3 separate regions of the Homo sapiens genome follow, and all the other regions are linked to region 3. The links are contacts of gene promoters, found by promoter capture Hi-C in blood cells and fetal thymus (Javierre and others, 2016). All regions are on one chromosome and are shown on one strand. The core of a region is centred on a gene start or on the middle of the fragment in contact, and the rest is flanking DNA. Distances in the headings are between cores, read along the strand shown. Region 1 has its middle 51 kb from the start of MIR4418. Region 2 has its middle 55 kb from the start of ZBTB40. Region 3 holds the start of WNT4 (Wnt family member 4).

Evidence for each region. Contacts are between HindIII fragments. The CHiCAGO score rates a contact against its expected background, and 5 or more counts as called.
Region 1: a fragment that was not itself captured here is called in contact with the fragment with the promoter of WNT4 in region 3 in 1 of 17 cell types (endothelial precursors); the score reaches 5.4 in endothelial precursors.
Region 2: a fragment that was not itself captured here is called in contact with the fragment with the promoter of WNT4 in region 3 in 8 of 17 cell types (megakaryocytes, M2 macrophages, endothelial precursors and 5 more); the score reaches 8.8 in megakaryocytes.

What each region holds. Positions count from the first base shown.
Region 1 is chr1:22,316,275-22,319,193 of GRCh38, reverse strand. No RefSeq gene overlaps it. Among named protein-coding and RNA genes, the nearest start is that of MIR4418, 51 kb to the right of the region's middle. The HindIII fragment of the contact is 1,049 bases long and covers 1,128-2,176 here.
Region 2 is chr1:22,395,565-22,398,307 of GRCh38, reverse strand. No RefSeq gene overlaps it. Among named protein-coding and RNA genes, the nearest start is that of ZBTB40, 55 kb to the left of the region's middle. The HindIII fragment of the contact is 4,522 bases long and covers 1-2,743 here.
Region 3 is chr1:22,141,740-22,144,439 of GRCh38, reverse strand. It overlaps WNT4 (Wnt family member 4), which reads left to right and starts at 1,343. Exons shown (of 5, transcript NM_030761.5): 1 at 1,343-1,594. The coding sequence starts at 1,518. All of the region lies in intron 1 of LOC105376845 (a long non-coding RNA gene), which reads right to left. RefSeq lists silencers at 924-1,253, 1,816-1,875. The HindIII fragment of the contact is 11,467 bases long and covers 1-2,700 here.

The DNA of each region.
Region 1 (2,919 bases), core at 403-2,902, 170 kb before region 3:
TCACATCCATTGAGCACCTACCGTGTGCCCGACACTGCTGCAGGTCCTGGGAGAGAGCAATGAATGTGAATGTCATTACACTCACTTTACAGATGAGGCAATGGAGACTTGCAGGGGTCTCAGGGACCAGCCCTTTCCCTGTAGACCCTCACGAGTTCTTTACAGTGAGCCCATGAGGCTGGTACTGCGACGGCCAGCCTTGAAGTGGAGAAGCGGGATCCGCATGCTGGCCAGGCACTTGCTCAGCACCCCTTCCTTGCCTTAGTGAGTTCCAAGTCTGCACTTCACTGTGACAGGGATGCATGGGTCCCACTGGACTTGGGGGGCATCCTGCAGGAGGGGCCAGGCTTATGGAGAAGAAGCCCGCGGTGCTGTTCAAATGCCAGCCCTGATGCGAGCGAGGGAGGGAGGGTTGCCTGAGGGCGGGAAGCGGTGAGGGAGCCGGGATAATGGCCCAGCCTGAACCTGTCGCCACGGCAACCGCAGGGGCCGTCTGGAGCCAGCAGCCTGCCAGGCCTTGGCCCCACAAAGCCCGAGAGGGAGGCAGAGGGGGCGGACCTGGCGGGGCATAAATCAGGGAGTTCTATGCCCCTGACTCCGGGCAGACGATTTATGGGACTACTCCAAGCCCACGAGATGCACAGGGGAGAGCTGAGAGGGTCTCCCTGTTCCCACCGCCCCTGGGGCCCCTGCTTGGACTCGGATGCGTGTGCAGGGTGGGCAGGAAGAGGCCCCTCCAGGCCACCCTCAGAGCTGCTGGAGGCCCCTGCCCCCACCCATCCCATAAGACACCTCTGTGCCCACTGTACCAGCATGCGGCCCCCACGCCAACAGCAAAAGTCTCAAGAAAGAGATACCTCTAAATTCTTGAAATGCATGCTGATATTTTCTATCTTATTCTGTTCTATTCCTTTTTAAAAATGCTGGTCACAACTCACTAAATTAATGTCATGACTCATTCATAGTTTGTGACCTGCAGTTAGGTCAACACTGATCCAAAGGAAGCCAGAGGGGGAAACTGAGGCTCACCGACTCCCTCCTCTCACACACAACTGGAGCAGACTTATATGCATCAATCAGCTCCTCCAGTCTCCCCACACACCTGGCTCTGCCTCAGGGCCCAAGCTTGTTCCCCACCACCCATTGTAGTCATTCAAGATGGAACCAGCTTCCTTGGAAGGTAATGAGCTACCCATCTCTGAAGTCATCCAAACAAAAGTTGAATGACCACCTGCCGGGTGCTCCAGGGAATCCCGGCATCCCTTAGAGAGAGGCCAGACTAATGCCTCTGAGCCTATACGGGGTGGGAAGCAGGCAACGCTGACTACTTTGCCCACATAGCGGCTGAGCCATGGACAGGATGGGAGAGAGGCTGCAGGCCAGCCAGGCCCACTGGAGGGGGCTCAGAGCTTCAGGCTGGCTCAGATAGACAAGGGGCAAAGATAGCATCAAGAAGGTGAGTGTCCAAGGATGGTGGCTCACACCTGCAGTCTACCTCAGTACTTTGGGAGGCCGAGGCCAGAGGATCGTTTGAGCCCAGGAGTTCAAGGCTGCAGTGAGCTATGATTGCACCACTGCACTCCAGCCTGGGTGACAGATGAGACCCTGTCTCAAAAAAAGAAGGTGAGTATGCCTGGTGGGAGCCTGGCAGAGACAACAGGGGCCACTTAAGAGGTCCCAGCACCCAGCCCCCTTCCTCCTGGCCCCTTTGCATTACCCGCCCAGACCTGCAGGGGGCTGTGCCTTCCCTGGCTGGGCCCCTAGTCCTGGAACAATGTTCCCAGCCCCACAATCACTGTTTCTGCCCTATCTCCTGCCTCTCTCAGCTGTCTACCTCCAGAAACAAGTTCCTCTTACCAGGAGGTGCCGAGATGCTAAGAACGGCTGATGACTGTGTTTCCGCACAGCACAGAGGCCTGCTGCTCCAGATTCAGACAGACCCGGATCCCAGGCCCAGCTCTGCCACTCACCTGTGTGTGATCTTGAGCAAAAGCCTTGACCTCTCCCAGCCATTTTAGTCAATAACATGAGGCCATCATATCTACCTTGTGATCATTGATAAGGGAAGACATCCAGGGTATATTAAGTTAAAAGGGCAAATCTGTTCCCATGTTTGTTAAAAACAAAAACAAAAGCAAACCCCTTTATTTATATGTTCGCTATGCATGCAAAAGCTTGGAAGGAAATGCCCCAAACAGGTGGTAGAAGGGTCATGGAGAGGGAGAGGTGGATGATTTTCATTTCCTACTCTATACACTCTTTGAATTTTTTTTTTTTTTTTTTTTGAGACGGAGTCTTGCTCCGTCATTCAGGCTGGTGTGCAGTGGCGTGATCTCGGCATCTTGGCTCACGCAACCTCTGCCTCCCGAGTTCAAGCAATTCTTCTGCCTCAGCCTCCCGAGTAGCTGGGATTACAGGCACACACCACCACACCTGGCTAATTTTTGTATCTTTAGTAGAGACAGGGTTTCACCATCTTGGCCAGGCTGTCTCGATCTCCTGACCTCATGATCAGCCCGCCTCAGCCTCCCAAAGTGCTGGGATTACAGGCGTGAGCCGCAGCTCCCAGCCTGAAAAATTTTAAACCAATAAGCATGTACTAATTTTGTAACCAAAAAATTGAAATTAAAAACAATCCAACCCCAGCCCCATTCCTGCTGTGAGGACCTAAAGGGTAAATGCATACAGAAGGCTGGTGGTGGCGGGGGGTGGGAGACAGCCCAGCCCCCACCTTCTCATTCATTTTTTCTCTCCAGGGGTCTTGTTCATTCCCAGTTTGTGTTTTATAAACTGGTGAATTAAAGATGTATAAAGATGTATTAGTGTTATTCCAATTAATTGGACACCAATGACTCTCCTTCACCCCAGAAAGCATTTGTTGACCACTGTCCAGCATCCTGCAGGAGTGAACAGTGGAAA
Region 2 (2,743 bases), core at 64-2,563, 250 kb before region 3:
CCAGGCTGGTCTTGAACTCCTGGGCTCAAGTGATCAACCTGCCTCGGCCTCCCGAGGTGCTATTACAGGTGTGAGCCACCGCGCCCAGCCCCAGAGTATTGTTCTTTACAGGCTATGGGGTTCATGTGTATCCTTCCATAGAACATCATCAATTCTGTGAGGGCAGAGTCCTATATAATGCCTGTCCCCTCATGGGTATGTCTGTCTTGTACACAGCCACAGGAATGTCTATCTTACACAGCTTCTCCCTAGGTCCTAAAACAACACCTGACATGTAGTAGGTGCTCAATAAATATTTGTTGAACAAATGAAGGAACGTATAAAAGCAAAAATAAAGAAGTAAGGCAAAATCTTTCATCATTCCACCACCCAGAGATCACTGTTAACGTCTTGGCATATTTCTTCCTAAATTTCTTCTATGTCACTGTTTATATTCATATGAATATAGTTGAAAACACATTTTGCACCTTTTTCCTTAACTCAGCCTAACAGCATAAGCATTTCCCATGGTATTAAGAAGCATTATTCTTCTTGAAGTAACAGTCATGGTTCTCAGCCAGAGGCGATTCGGCCCCCCAGGGGACAGTTGGCAATGGCTGGAGACATGTTTGGTTGTTACAACGGGTGGGGTGAGGGGCATCGCTACTGGCTACTAAACGTCCTATGATACACAAAACAGCCCCCAAAACAACAAATTACTGGCCCTAAATGTGGATAGTGCCAAGGTTGAGAATCTGCCTTTAGTAGTTCATCATGAAGACCTATGAGATTTGGCTCCAACACCTTCCTGTTTCCAGTTTTCACCAATACAAAGAAGATTGTGAAAAAGAGCTTGAGACATGCATCTCTACCACACTTTATATTATCTCCACAGGGCAAATGGTGATGCTTGGTTTTTTCAGGAGGTTGAACGAAGGACAACATTGACCTTGCTTGGACTTCGTTTTTGTCAATTTCAGCTGCTTAGTCCCAGCCCTCTGGGCATTCTGTCCTCTGTCACATTTGTGGTCTTTTCCAGCTGCAAGTCATGTCAAGGGAAAATATCCAGACCTCCATGGCCAGGGTGCTTTCTGTGATGAGGGCTGCCCCACCAGCACCTCACCTGTCCAAGATTTCAAACCCTCACTGGGGGAAAACTTGTTTACCATGATCTATAAATAATGTGTGTCATGTGAGCAGAAGAGAAGAATGGAAGCAAGGATGCTGTGTACTTGCTGTGGACATTCAATTTCCAGTTTATACCAAGAAAACTGCAATTGTTCAAGACAATTTGGATGCCTCCTTGGGAAGTGCTTTAGGGGTTTACAATGCTTTCCCTCAATAAGAACATCATCTAGGTGAAAAGCCCTGGTGTGTGTACAAATACATCCTATGCAAAACAATATTCATTCATTCAGCAAATATTTACTGAACCCCTGCTATGTGCCAGGCACTGTTCTATGCTCTATAGACACAGAGATGAAACGAGACAGAGAGAGTCTCTGTCCACGGACAGCCTACTTTCTACGGGGAGCAGGGTCACATAACCAAATTATGTAAAACACAATGTCAGGAAGTAATTAGTGCTTGAAAAAAACATCAAGGACAGGGGACAGAGTGGCAGGGCAGGGAGTACAATTTTGGACAGGATAGTCAGAGATGGGTTCTCTGAGAGGCCATATTTTAAAGTGATCAGAGCTCAGAAAGTGAGTGAACCCTGGGGCTCTCTGAGAGTATAACAAGTGCAAAGGCCCTGAGGCAAAAATGTGCTGGGCATGTATGGGGAGCAGCAAGGGGGCCAGTGCAGTTGGTGTGAAAGGAGCAAAGGGGAAAGTTGTAGGACGTAAGGTTAGAGTGACAGAACAACCAGATCCCATAGGGCCTCGTAGGCCTCGGTGAGGACTTGAAGTTTTGCTCTCCTGGCGTATTTGAGCAAGGTAAGAAAGAGATCTCATGTTCCTTTTTAAAAATCCCTCTGGCTGCTGTATGGAAGATGAACTGTAGCGAGGCGAGGATGCAAGTGGGGAGCCCAGGAAGGGGCAGTTGTAATCTTGCAGATGAGAGGTGATGGTGGCTTGGACTTCATCATAAGGAGTGTGGTGCAGAAGGGCGAGATGTGGTCAGATTTCAGATATATTTTGAAGATGGAGCTGATGGGTTTGCTGATGCATTGCATGTGGGGGAAGGGTGACAGAAAGAGGGGTGGAGAATGACCAACAATTGAGAATTAAATGGGAGCTTTCGGAGATATGAGAGTTCTCTTCTGGGATTTATGTTTCCGTGGCACACCCACAAGCAATGGAGCCCCATGACAGCCAGCCAACCCCTGGCAACTTCCAAATTTCCAGATGCTCATTGATTTGCTGTTGTGTAGACTCTCCCTACTCAAAGTGTGGATGGAGAAAACACAGCATTAGCATCAGCTGGGAACTGGTTAGATGCTCAGGCCTGCCAGGTGATTCGTGTGCTTATTAAAGTGTAAGAAATGGCCGGGCACGATGGCTCACGCCTGTAATCCCAACACTTTGGGAGGCTGAGGAGGGAGGATCACTTGAGGCCAGGAGTTTGAGGCTGCTGTGAGCTATGATCATGCCACTGCACTTCAGCCCCAGTGACAGAGCTAGACTCTGTCTCTAATAAAACACACATACACATACACACACCCCCCGCACACACCCCACACAGACAAAAGTTTAAGAAACACTGATGTAGGTCACATATCTGAAAGGGTGGAATTCTTTATCTTCTCTTTGGGTGTTTTAGA
Region 3 (2,700 bases), core at 94-2,593:
TGATGGCCTCTGTGGGAGCAAACTTCATACTCCAAAATCAGTGAAGAACTAAGATCAGGGGGTGAGGGCATAGACCTGGTCCTTGCCTCTGTTCCCAACCCCTAGGGAGGTGGGACAGGTGCCTCCCTTTCCGGGCCTTAGTTTTACTGTTTAGATAAGAGGTCCCTCTACCTGTGAGCAGCTGGGGGATGCAGCCTGGAGGATGAGTAGCACACAGAATCAGATCAGTGACCTGAGAGGGTGTGGCGTGGACTTGGGCAGACAATTCTTAGGGGTTACAGTGATGTGGAATTGAGCTCTCTGGACTAGCCAAGCACAGGCTGTTGCAGCCCATTCCATTCCATTCATTTATTCCTTCCACAAACATGGCAGGCACCGCCCTGTGCCCAAAACAAACAAGAGGCTGAATCTGCCTAGTATGGGAGGATAAATCGAACAAGCACATAGAAAACCAAATGCAAAGTAAGACTTGGTGAGTGAGCCAAGAGAGCTTCCCTAAACTCCTCCTGTCCTCCCAATCACAGCGTCTTAAGCCCACTTCCCGGATGAGAAAACGGAGGCTCAGAGTCAAGACCCTGCTGCCTGGGGCGCGCCCAGACCTTGTGGCTAGCCAGAAGCGAGGTTTCGGATTCCCACAGTCTCGGGCCACTGTCCCAAGCTGCCCAAAGCTGGGGAGGCCCCGTCCAGCTCCCGGAAGGCTGTAGGGAGGTGAGCGCCAGGGAGGGGCTGGGCCGCAGGACGCGGGGGCCAGGAGGCAGGGAGGGGCCGGGCGGGGGGCGGTCGGGAGACATCCAGCGCCCCGATGTGCAGCCCCAGGCACCCGGAGCGCCAGCGCCTGGGTGCGCGCGAGTGGTAGCCGCGCTCCGGTGGGTCCGCCGCGGTCGGACCGGGGTCTGGGCTCCAGGCGCCGGCGGGGGGCGGTGGGGGGGGTAGGGGGACAGCGAGGGCCGCGCTGCAGTGCCCGCAGCGGCGGGTTGGGGGAGCTGTGCCCGCCTGTCCCCTAGGCCCGGGCGGCGGCCGGGCAGCTGGGTCGCCGCGCCTCTAGCCGGGCCGGGCTCGGCGGCGCGCAGCCAGGCGTGCCTGGAGCGGGCTCGGGCCCCAAGTCCTCCGGAGCGCCCAGCCGGGGAGGCCCCGGGAGCAGCCCAGTCCCGCGGGCTAAGGCGGCAGCCGCCGCCGCTCCGGCCCGCCCCCGGGGGGGTGTCCCGGGCCGCTGGGCCCGCCCAGGTAACCCCATCCTCGGCCCGCCCCCGGCCCGCCCCCCCGGCCGCCCGCCCGCCCGCCCGCCTCCGCCGCCGCCGCCGCCGCCGCCGCCGCCGCATCCCGGCTCTGGGGCGGCGCTGACAGTCTGGTCCGCGCCGGGCAGCGGGCGCAGCAGCGGGCAGGCTGCCGGCAGGCACACGGAGGCAGAGCCCCGCCGCGCGCGCCCCGGCCCGCCCGCGGGCGCCCACCTGCAGCCCCGACGGGAGGCCCCCCGCGGCCGCAGCCGCTGCCCCGGGCCGGGCGCCCGCGGCGGCACCATGAGTCCCCGCTCGTGCCTGCGTTCGCTGCGCCTCCTCGTCTTCGCCGTCTTCTCAGCCGCCGCGAGCAACTGGCTGTAAGTCTGGCCGGGGCCGAGCGGGGCGGGGCGGGGCGGGGCAGGCCCCGGGGGCAGCGGCCGGTGCCAGGCGGCGCGGGGCAGCGGGCGCGGGGCAGCCCGGCAGGTGTCTCGGCCGCGGGACCGGAGGCTCGCTCGCTCCGCTGCCGCCGCCACGGCCCGAACGTCCCTCTGCACACCCGGGGTCCCCTCCTGCCCGGGTCCGGCTCCCTGCCCAGAGGCGTCAGGGGTGGCTGTGGCGGCGTCCGCACCGGTAGGCGGCTCGGGGCTCTCGAGGGCGCCAGGGGTGCGAGCGCGGGGCGGTGGCCCGGGAGGGGCGCCGGACGCGGGTTGCAGTCCAGCCGGGCTGACAGGTCGCTGAGGAAGCCCATTGCAGGGAAGGGCTCCGGGACATAATAGCAGGTTAATCCCGAGAAGTCCGGAGCGAGCTCCCAGCGCCGAGCTGCGCCGAGCTGCGCCGCGCTGCGGGCTGGGCTGGAGGCGTGCAGGGACCTGTTTCTGCTTGGGGGGCGGGAGCCGGAGACAGAAGGAAGGGACCAGGACGCCTGGTCTCCCAGGGCCCGGGGCTGGCGCTGGCGCTGGCCGGGCCTTGGTTTTTCCCCGGGGCAGGAAGAAACTCCGTCCAGACCTTAAAGAAGACAACGGCCCCCCAGCTCCCCGTGTCTAGCCTAAGGAGGAAGGGGTGGTAACCGCTGGTGACCTGTCTGTTTCTCCTTGACTGGATCTGCGCTCAGGGCGCTCCCTGGGTAGGGGCGGAAGGTTTGCTGCAGGGAGGGAGACTAAAGGGATGAGCTCCAGTGAGTGGGTGGACAGGGAGCAAGCGGACCCGCGCTCCTTTCATCCCCGCTCAGGGACAGTTCCCCATGCCCCGCGCTTAACCCTGGCCCCAGTTCCTCCTGCCCAGAGCTCTGCCACCATCCGCTGTGGGCAGCCAGTGGGGAGCCAAGCTCCAATATTGATCTGAAAAGCATGGGGTGGGAAGGGGGATCGCCAACAGTGTAGCTGGGGTTTCCATGGAGACAGGGAGAGAGGAAAAAATTCTCTCTGCATCAAGACCAAAGAACAAATATCTCCCATGAAATTGCCCCGAGTGTCCAATGGCTGTT